Linked DNA regions of Homo sapiens: all the other regions are linked to region 3. The links are contacts of gene promoters, found by promoter capture Hi-C in blood cells and fetal thymus (Javierre and others, 2016). All regions are on one chromosome and are shown on one strand. Each heading gives the region's core, a stretch centred on a gene start or on the middle of the fragment in contact. The rest is flanking DNA. Distances are from core to core; before and after follow the strand shown. Region 1 overlaps FANCC (FA complementation group C). Region 2 overlaps FANCC (FA complementation group C). Region 3 holds the start of FBP2 (fructose-bisphosphatase 2).

Region 1 (3,000 bases), core at 501-3,000, 580 kb before region 3:
ATTTTCTGTTAAAGCAAAACAGAAAATTCAGTACATAGTTTTAAATATTTACCTCTTAATATTAAAGCATTGTTTTCTTCTGGCTTAAATTATAGCCAAATGTGAGAAATTTTAACTTACAAACTTGATGTAACTCTTCTAAAAAATGTTATGAGATTTTTTAATGTTTGTTAACCATTCCGGTGTTTTGGAAGCTTTGTACAATAACAACTTTTTTTTTTTTTTCAAATGAACTGAATTTTAAATGAAGAAGTAAACTAACTTTTCTTTAAATGGATTTGGTTTTAATTCTTAGGAAATTAATGACCTGTCTATTGTTCATTGCTTAAATAGGAATGCAGAATTATAGACATTAAACATAAAATCCCAATTATTAGTAAATGTGACATGGCACTGCTTCCTTTTCACTCTGACAGAGTGAAACATGAGAAGATGGGGGTTGGGGGAATCTCAACGGAAATATCACTCACACCAAGAAAAATAGAACTGATGTAATCCTGTTTGCAGCGTGAGTTAACCTGCAACTGATTTTGTTTTACAGATGGTTTTATCATTAGCGTCTGAACTCAGAGAGAATCATCTTAATGGATTTAACACTCAAAGGCGGTAGGTGTTAAACTAAACATCCTTCTTCTCAGGTTTCAAAATGTATCAGTTTGGTTATGAGAGGAAAATTTTACAATTCATAGGAAATGGATGTTCAGTTATGGTTGTATTTTATATAGAAAGATTATTTTAGTGGAATACATAGCAAATTGGTGAGTTTTTTCAAACTCTTTTAAAAATCACTATTTTCTCAACTCTCACAGAGCAGTAAGTAAATCATACAATGTCTTTTGTGGGCCCATTAGGTAGAAAGCCCTACATACACAGTAGGGAGCATAAAAGAAAGAGCAGTACTTAGTTTTACCCTGGGATTGCTCACTCTGCAAGAGGAGAATGTGCACAGATGCAAGTGTATGCTCTCACACTAGCCTGCCCTGGCTCTGCCTTCTTCTGCTCCCAACACACACACACACACACACACACACACACACACACACACACGATATTTACAAGGCAACATTTGATGTGAACATATGCCCTATTTTAAGAAACATGATATTCCAAAATCTAGACTAAACAAATCAAAGAGATTCAGACAAATTAAAAGGCAATTAATCACATTACAAATGTTTCTTCACTCTGTAAAAGAATCTCAGTTTTCATTGGTGGGCATTTCATTTTTGACATATCATTAACCAAGAGAATCTGGGACTGAGGGACTTGGTGATTTTTTTTTTTTTTTGTAAAGCTATTGCTAATTCAAGCTCTATCAGAAATTGTCTTTGTCCTCAACCTTTAGGAATCCTTTGCACCTAACCCTTAAACTATATAATTATTAGAGGAAAACATTGGAGATAATCTTCATTATGTTGGATTTGGCAATGTAAGAAGAACCATAGGAGACATGGAGAGTGTTTAGATTTATTTATTTACATGTCAGGTAAAGACTTGGATTTGGTTGTGAGGTGAATGTTGACTGATGGATCTTTTGAATTATGTAATTATAAATTTATTCAAAAAGACCTTAAAAATCAGTCAGTGCAGTGTGTATGTACTCCCTACACCAAACTCCCAAAATATGCATCACAGTTGATTTTTTAAAAAGCAGCTGACAATAAACAAAATAATTTTTAAAATCTGTTAACAAATAGAAACAAAGGATCAGAATGCAAAATATAGAAATGACTTGCAAAAATAAATCATAAAGAGGCAAACACTCCGTTATAGAAATGAGCAAGGAATATAAGCAGGTCATTACTAGAAGATGAAAACTGAATTAATAATAACATTAAAGGCGTTCTTCAGGAATGACATCAGCAAGATGGCAGAATAGGAAGTCCTAGACCTTATTTTCCAGTAGAGACATTGACTTAACTACAGCATACATCCCAAAAAATTATAGTGAGAACTACAGAACCAATTAAGAAGTCACAGTACTGCAGGCAAGCTCAAAGTCTAGAATAGCCACATTGAAATTGATTAAACAATCTGTTTCATGTCAACTGTGATAGCCCTTTTCCAGGTCTGGCAGCTTGGTGAGATTGGTAGGAAAAACCCAGCTTGTGGCTTCTCTTCCTTGGGAGGGAAAAAGAAGAGTGGAATGTGCATCCAACATTCTCACTTTTTAGGAAGCAGACTGAGGAACTGATTTCTGTCTCTACTGACCGGGAGCACTGATGAGGAAATCGCATACAGTAATCCCTCCTTATCTATAGGGAATATATTTCAAGACACCCAGTGGATGTCTGAAACTGTGGATAGTACCAAACCTGATTGCCACCAATCATAACACATTTCTGTATTCCACTCACAACTTTAATGTCTTTTCCATCGTAACTAAGCACTTATCATATATGATGGCTGTAATTTTTGCCATGTGAGATGCAACGACAAAACTAACAGAAATTTTTTTCCTTCTTTACAATTTCACAGATAGATGATTTGTTTTTACTATAGATCTCAGCAACCTCAGCATATGATTTTTTTCTTTCCTTATTAAGTTGAAAACTTTCACCTTTTCACTTAAAGAAAGCACTTTACAACTTCTCTGTGGCATATCCAAATTGCCAGCCCCAGTGCTCTTGGACTTTGAGGTCATTATTAAGTATTAATAAAATAAGAGTTACTTGAACACAAGCACAGTGATACTGTGACAGTTGATCTGACAACCAGTATGGCTACTAAGTGACTAACGAGCAGGTAGTGTATATATTATGGATACCCTGGGTAAAGGGATGATTCATGTTCCAGATGGGACAGAGTGGGACAGCATGAGATTTCATCATGCTACTCAGAACAGTACACAATTTAGGCCAGGTGCGGTGGCACATGCCTTTAATCCCAGCACTTTGGGAGGCTGAAGTAGGTAGATCACCCGATTTCAGGAGTTCAAGACGAGCCTGGCCAACATGTCAAAACCGCATCTCTACTAAAAGTACAAATTAGCTGGGCGTG
Region 2 (3,763 bases), core at 1,037-3,536, 550 kb before region 3:
TCTGGAAACAGTTCTTTGAACCCCACTTTGAAAATTGTTGCATGGCCTCTGACTACTGCTGTAGTCATGACTCCAAGTTACGAGTGGCTCTGTCTGCAGTGTTTGAAAACACTGTGAATCCACTGTGTGGTATAATTTGCAGAGCCCTCTCCGTCTCAGATAATGAGATCCAAAGCATTCACATTTCCGAATTCAAGGTATACATGCAATGTGATTTTAAAATGATACTTACTGCTTATAAACTTGACATTTTGTTAAGAATACTGTGGTTTTTAAATCATTTTATTAATACTATTTACGTTTTCAATTTTTTTTTTTTTTTTTTTTTTTTTGAGATGGGGTCTCACTCTGTCACATAGGCTGGAGTGCAGTGGTGCAGTCTTGGCTCACTGTAGTCTCAAACTCCCAGGCTCAGGCGATCCTCCCACCTCAGCCTCCTGAGTAGCTGGGACCACAGGTGTGTGCTACCATGCCTGGCTAATTTTTTGTATTTTCGGTAGAGACGGCATTTCACCATGTTGCCTAGGCTGGTCTTGAACTCCTGGGCTCAAGGAGTCTGCCTGTCTTGGCCTCCCAAAATGTTGGGATTATAGGCATGAGCCACTGTGACAGGCCCAATTCTTTATTTAAATACTTTCAGTGAGAAATTGGAGAATTGTTACATATGTAGACCCTTCCTTGCTATACAATGCATTTTAAAAAAACAAAACTACAATACCATTATTACATCTTAAAATTGACATTAGTTCCTTATCATCATCACATATCTAGTCAGGAATTAAATTATCCTGATTGTCTTAGAATTTTTCTTCCAGTTGGTTTGTTAGAATCAGAGTTCAAATAAAAAAAAATAAAGAATCAGAGTTCAGATCTACACATTGCCTTTGGTTTATGGTTCTTTTAAGTCTCTTTCAATCCCTCTTTGTTTTTTGTTTTGAAATTATTTGTTGAAATAATACGGTTGTTTTCCCCGTTCTCCGGTGGTAAAGCATGTCCGCCCTCTTGAGTGTGATAAAGGGTGCGTGCCTCTGGAGCACAGTCCTGTGGGCTTAGGTGGTTCCCTTGTCACATTCTCAGTTCTCACATAGTCAGGCCTGTTTTGTTACCTTCTGTTCTGGTTCTCTGGTCTCTTGCATGTGCGTGCGGCAGTATCACTGCTTTAGTGCTGGCATCAACTGTGTTCAATACAAAATAAGGATCATTCCCTTTGATTTCTCTTCTTTACTAGGGTTGTTATTAGTTTGTTTTGCTATCATTGCTTGTCTTATATTCCACATAAACTTTGAAACCAATTTTTCTAGTTGCAGGGAAGACACCCAGTGTTGTTGGGGGAAGACTCCTGTAAGTATATAGATTATCGAGAGAGCTGGCGTTTTCATGATGTTAAGGCTGTCTGTCCGCCTGTTCAAGAACACATACGTTTTACCATTTGTTAAGCTTTTGTGATCTGAAGGGAGTGTTGTATATATTTTTCACACATTGGATTTACACATTTCTTGTTCCTAATGTTTTGTTGTATTTGTGTTTTCAATGTTTTCACTGTCATAAATGGATCTTCTCCTCCATCTTCAAATAGATTTTCATTGTGTTGTTTGTTGCGTTTGGAAAACAAAACAGGCTCAAAACCACCGTTGTTCTTACAGTTCAGAGTATTTCCATTTTTTAAATCTATAACTCTTAAAAATTAGGATACATATTTTAATTTCAGTTTATATGAAAGGTTATAATCCAGGATTTTGTGAAAGTGAGATTTAAAAAGAGAATTAGAAGATTAAGTCACTTGATTCGAAAAATGGTCAAAATGCAGGTTTCATGGCTAAAAAAATAAAATGGCCTTTTTTCTACCTACTCTTAAACCTTCTGTCAAAATTCACCCAGTAAGTGGAGTGAGCTTTCTGAGGAGTCCGAGCGTTATGTTTGGTCCTTATGTGAGATACTGAGTAAAGGGCGTTGTGAACGTGCGGCGCGGCGCTCGATTCTTTCCTTACAGTGCCCAACACCCGCAATGGAGCACACGCTTCACGGCCCCACCACTGATCACACCAACTGGCATTTTTACTCTCCACGGCGATTTTTCAAAATACTTACAAAGAATATTTAACTAAAATGCTCTTGCCTTTCACTGTGGCAGCTCCCTTCTTGATTCATCTAGGAATATATTTCACAGGAGAATATGGTCTCAGCCACCCCCGTGTCTAGCCTTACTCTTTCAGCAAGAGCTGAATTAAAGGGAATCTGGAAGTGAATACTCCTGGTCTTCTGTGAAACCCCAAAAGCTGTTTGAGAAATCACTGGCCAGGCGACGTGCCCAGAGAACAGCTACTCCTGCTCTAGCACAGTGCTCAGAGGGACGCTGAGGGCAGCGGCTCCCCAAGCAGGCCCACACTCCCTTGCTTGTAATTTTGCTTGTGATAGCATGTTCTCCCTCAACAACTCATAAAATTTATTTGGTTTGGAAAGTTATGTCTGCTAATCCATAAGGGACAGACTGTCCAGAAGTGCTGGGTGGTCTTCAGTGTGTCCAAATCCTGTGGCTTCAGCTCAGCAAGTTCCCCAAGCAGTGGCGTAAGAGCTGGAGCCTCTCCATGGACACTTTCCCGTAGGCGGAACATCCCAGCCACATGTTGACACAGCGAGGCTGATCCAATCAATCAGTGCAAATTACCAGCCGCGCCCAGCCCCCCCTCCCCAGATGTGCTGCGTGGTCATTTGGAAACCACATGCTTTCTTTGACCAATGCACTCTAACCCGTGTTTAGCCTTCCAACTATTTGCTTACCACAGTACACCAGTGGAATTTCATCTGTTTGACAATTGGCTGGTGTCTTTGGTCTTGGCTTCCAAATGCAGTCATATATTTTCAGCAGTGGTCTGCCTGTCTTTTAAACAGCAGATGCTTGCCCCTCTTTATGGTTTAGATAACCTAGAGGAACTTTTAAATTTCTTGGCCTAAATGTCAACTTTTCATGTCTGTCCCTGGGGCTGCCGTCATAGGCACCTGCAGGCTAAAGACGGCATAAAACCTTCCTGGGCGGGCTGCTGAGGTCCTTTTGTAAGTCTGGAGTATAAGTAATACAGCATGACATGTCCTCTGAGGTCATCCGAATCCACTGCTTCAAAAATACTGAGAAGCTTGAAGACTGGATGGAGAATTTGTTCTATATGCCTGAATGAATGAGACACTGAACAAGTGAAAAAAAGAATGAAGGCATGACGGTGATCTCGTGATATAATAAGAAATGTGCATTTGGTCTTCATCCAGGCTCCTAAAACCCTTGAAATTTCCTGAGTGATGAGGTGAGAAGAGCATCTTTTATTATTCATAAGTCCCTTTTCACCACACCTGAGTGTAGGCTAATGAAGTGACTCCTGGTGGGCCCCCAGATAGCCTCGGGATGGGGGCTGGTAGCCAAAGGAACCAACCACACCTGACCCCCAGAGTTCGACCTGATCACTACTGGCCAGCGATTTAATCAGTCGTGCTTACATTGTGAGACCTCCATAAAAAACCTAAACTGTGGGGTTCAAATAGCTTCCAGATTGGTGGTCACATCCAGGTGCTGGGAAGGTGACGTGCCTGGAGAGGGCCTGGAAGCTCAGAACTTTCCCCCAGGCCTGGCCCCATGCATCTCTTCCATGTGGCTGTTCCTGAATTGTATCTTTCAGAATAAATTGGTAATGGCAAGTAAAGTGTCTTCCTGAGTTCTGTGAGCCATTCTAGCAAATTATCAAACCTGAAGAGAGGATCATTGGAACCTCTGATT
Region 3 (4,017 bases), core at 1,176-3,675:
GCTGTGTTATCCCTAGGAAGCCCTAGTTTCCTCATCTGTAAAAATAGCACTACTGGATCAAATAATTGGGTGGATTAATGTGTGCCACATACTGAGATAGAGGTGTCATCTGTCTCCATCTATCCATTCACCTCAGTGTTGAAAGTTGAAATAGATTGAATGAAAATCACAAAAAGGGTATGGGATCCTGTATTTGTTCTATTAAGAGGTAGCATATTTCTTGGTAAGTGAAGATAGACCCCCCCACACCCCCGCGAAAAGAATTAGAACATTGTCACATAGCAGTTCCTCTTCTGGGGTTGTATCTTACTGAAGCACTTGCCCCAATATAAGGATGTTTGTTGCATTACTATTTGAGGAGCCAACTTACCTAAATTATCTGAATGTCCGCAAGCTGGAATGATCCAAGCCTCTGTGTGCTGACTTGGACATCTTCCCATAATATTTGCTTTCTGGAACTAAAAACATATATAAATAACATATATATATATTTGGGATCTTAAACCTGCATATTAAGATCTACTGGTAGATGTTAGTTTTATCTGAAAGTTTCCACATAAATTGTGAGCACCAATGCCCATCTCAACCATTTGGTTGCCCTCCTCAACCAGTTTGGTTGATCCAATGCCAGCGCCCAGCTCCCACTGCAGGCATCACCACACGACCCTGATCTGGCAGACGCTGTGCACAGGGACGTCTACGGGGGTGGGAGGATGGGTTCCAGGGAAACTGTTCTTTCTTAATAAAAAGGAACTGATGTGGTTGGAGCTGCCCTTGCTCCCCTCTTTGCATCTTCAACGTGGGCCAGATGTTCAGAACTGCAGTGACATTTTGTGCCCCCAGGATGCCAAGCAAGGGGCACAATCCAGCCGACCAAGGATGACAGAGACGAGACAGAGAGGGGTCCCAGTGGAACCAAGAACAGCTGAATGAACACCAGCCACCACCTCCTAGTGCACTCCTGGTCTATGAGGAAATAAACCCCCACGTGTAAATTGCTCTAGTTGTTCTATTTCTTGCAGCTGAACACATTCTAATCGACATAACTGTCAGGGGAAAAGACCTTCAGAGAAATGTGCATGTTGTACTGTTTTGTGAAATGAGATTATGTATGATTGCACAATAGTTGTGAGCACATTGAAAGACTGGAAGGGCGGCTGGGCGTGATGGCTCACGCCTGTAATCCCAGCACTTTGGGAGGCCGAGGCGGGCGGATCACGAGGTCAGGAAATCGAGACCATCCTGGCTAACACGGTGAAACCCCGTCTCTACTAAAAATACAAAAAATTAGCCAAGCGTCGTGGCAGGCGCCTGTAGTCCCAGCTACTCGGGAGGCTGAGGCAGGAGAATAGCGTGAACCTGGAAGGCGGAGCTTGCAGTGAGCCGAGATCACGCCACTGCACTCCAGCCTGGGCGACAGAGTGAGACTCCATCTCAAAAAAAAAAAAAAAAAAAAAAAAAAAAACTGGAAGGGCAATAATAGGTAACAAAGTACTGAGCACCTACTATACTAGGTACATCTCATTGCAGCCACTCTATAAGATGGATGCTTCACGGTTATGCTCATTTAAGAGTGAGACAACTGAGGTTCCAAGGGGTTTAATAACTTTCTCAAATCATGCAACCAACAGATAGCTAGCTTGGGACTCACAGCCAGGTCTGGCTGGCCCTAGAGAAAGTGCTTCCACCACCATATGCACCCCACCAGTGCCTACTGGCTGCACAGACCGCCACCAGCCCTAGCAGCAGTGATTTCTGGAGAGTGGGATGGGAGAATGGGCTGGTGGTGAGGAGGTTTGTCTTTATCCACTTCTTTAGTGTTTCCTTTTTAACAAGCAATTTTTGTTACAAAAGTGGACATCCAGAGATATTGACAAAATAACACTGGTGCCAGGAACTGTGCTAGGAATATAATAGTTTTCTTCCGGATCTGGATCTCTACTGTGGATATCCACTGGTCATACATGCCTACTGGAAATAAAAAGCATTCTTTCCTAACTTATTCCAAACCCTGGCTAAAGGAATTCTGGGGTTGCCATTATGTTACTATGTGACCTACGTCCCAGATAAGGAACCTGCGAATCTGCCACCTCCGCCCTCGGGAGAGCCAGGCCCTGCAGTCACTATATGTGAAGAATCCTTTGGAGCCTGGAATAAGAGGGTTTTATGCATCATTTTTTAATCAACTGGATTTCTCACCTCCCACCTGTGCCTAAATGGTGGCTTCTTGGTATCTTGAAAGGGGGTGCTCAGCAGGAGAAAGCAGCTCCATGTTTCTGGGCAGCCCGTCCTATTTACAGACTGCTGCGGCTCCCTGGCAGCTGCCACAGTCCCCGAGGCCAGAGGGAGTTCCTTGAGGGCCCCAGCAGTTGTTTGAGTCATGTGTTTTGGGCCCTTTTCCTTAGAGATCCTGGCAGGGCCAGCACAGATTTCTTATCGGCTTCCACACTGCGGAGCTGCAGCCCTCAGAAGTAAGCAAGGTTTCCTGCCGGGAGAAAAGGATTTGAAGCATTCCAGCCAAAATGACGGACAGAAGCCCCTTCGAAACCGACATGCTCACCCTGACCCGCTACGTTATGGAAAAGGGGCGTCAGGCCAAAGGGACTGGGGAGCTCACCCAGCTGCTGAACTCAATGCTGACGGCCATCAAAGCCATCTCCTCGGCTGTGCGCAAGGCCGGTCTGGCCCACCTGTGAGTCCTGGGGAGCAGGCATGGGGCACAGAGCACCCCAGGCCCAGGCAGGGGTGTGGGAGCTGCAGGTGCTTTGGCAAGAAACTGGGTCCAAAGCTTATTGGCCCTGTGTGCCCTAGATGGAAGCTGCATTTCAAGTTCCTATCATGTGTGCTTTGATAAAGGGGCCTTTGACTTGTTTTGAGAAAGGAACGAAAACATGCTATGAAGAAATACACATATAATTTTTCCAGTTATTATAATGATACCAAGTGCAGTGGCTTGTTGCATTAAAATATGTATTGTGTTATCATGACTTGTACTTGCACAGAGAGAGTCTCACTGGAACAAAGAAGTAGAGGGGTGACGTGAAATATCTCTTTATGCCTCTTGCAGACATGAGTGTTTTATTGTAATAAGCTTTGCAAATATGTTAGGAGCTGGAAATTATGTACGACATAGGAAGCTTGGTAGAGCCCCTTCCTGCATCTGCTCTCTCATCATCTAAAGGAGTGTTTTGCTGGCTACGTGTTTTATTTCTTCTCTGTGACTCTTTCTTTATCTTCACCTCCACTTGGTGTGCAGGAAGCCGGGAGGTGCTAGTCCTGGGAGGGGAGCGCAGAGGTTTCTTCCACAGGGTTCTCTTTGGTGCTTTATCCGAGCATAGATGAGGCCAGGTTCACATTACACTGCTGATGGTCACAGCCCAGTGTCCAGTTTAAGTCTGTAATAAAAAGAATCCGGTGGCCAGGCACGGTGGCTCCTGTCTGTAATCCTGGCACTTTGGGAGGCCAAGGTGGGTGGATCATGAGGTCAAGAGATCAAGACCATCCTGGCCAACATGTTGAAACCCTGTCTCTACTAAAAATACAAAAATTAGTTGGGTGTGGTGGCGGGCGCCTGTAGTCCCGGCTACTCGGGAGGCTGAGGCAGGAGAATCGCTTGAACCTGGGAGATGGAGGTTGCGGTGAGTCGAGATCGTACCACTGCACTCCAGCCTGGGTGACAGGACGAGATTCCATCTCAAAACATACAAACAAACAAACAAAACCCCAGCTTTCTTTGGGCTTCCCTTGTAGTAATTCCAGGGGAGGTCCTCTCAGGAGCTGAAGGAACACATATTTTGGGGATGAAAGAGACTCAAAATGAGGAGCTAACAAAGTCCAATCATTTAAAATATTTACTCTGAGCAATTAAGTGCTTTTAACACAAAAAGTGATAGCATTAGATTACAAGATGTAATTATCATTTGATCACCACAGACTGTATTTATTTAGGGGTGGTGACCCAGTAGCAGGACCCAGGTTAACGGTGCATTATCCTTGCTTTTTTCCTGTGGGTGGATG

The links. Contacts are between HindIII fragments. The CHiCAGO score rates a contact against its expected background, and 5 or more counts as called.
Region 1: a fragment that was not itself captured here is called in contact with the fragment with the promoter of FBP2 in region 3 in 1 of 17 cell types (monocytes); the score reaches 5.2 in monocytes.
Region 2: a contact is called between a fragment that was not itself captured here and the fragment with the promoter of FBP2 in region 3, in 1 of 17 cell types (M0 macrophages). The highest score is 5.8, in M0 macrophages.

The regions. Positions count from the first base shown.
Region 1 is chr9:95,168,685-95,171,684 of GRCh38, reverse strand. FANCC (FA complementation group C) reads left to right here. Exons shown (of 15, transcript NM_000136.3): 6 at 542-606. Among named protein-coding and RNA genes, the nearest start is that of MIR3074, 84 kb to the right of the region's middle. The HindIII fragment of the contact is 3,108 bases long and covers 197-3,000 here.
Region 2 is chr9:95,143,057-95,146,819 of GRCh38, reverse strand. The region is part of intron 7 of FANCC (FA complementation group C); the gene reads left to right. It also overlaps a transcript of AOPEP not described here. Among named protein-coding and RNA genes, the nearest start is that of MIR3074, 59 kb to the right of the region's middle. The HindIII fragment of the contact is 1,694 bases long and covers 1,440-3,133 here.
Region 3 is chr9:94,592,232-94,596,248 of GRCh38, reverse strand. FBP2 (fructose-bisphosphatase 2) reads left to right here and starts at 2,425. Exons shown (of 7, transcript NM_003837.4): 1 at 2,425-2,692. The coding sequence starts at 2,523. The HindIII fragment of the contact is 4,350 bases long and covers 1-2,790 here.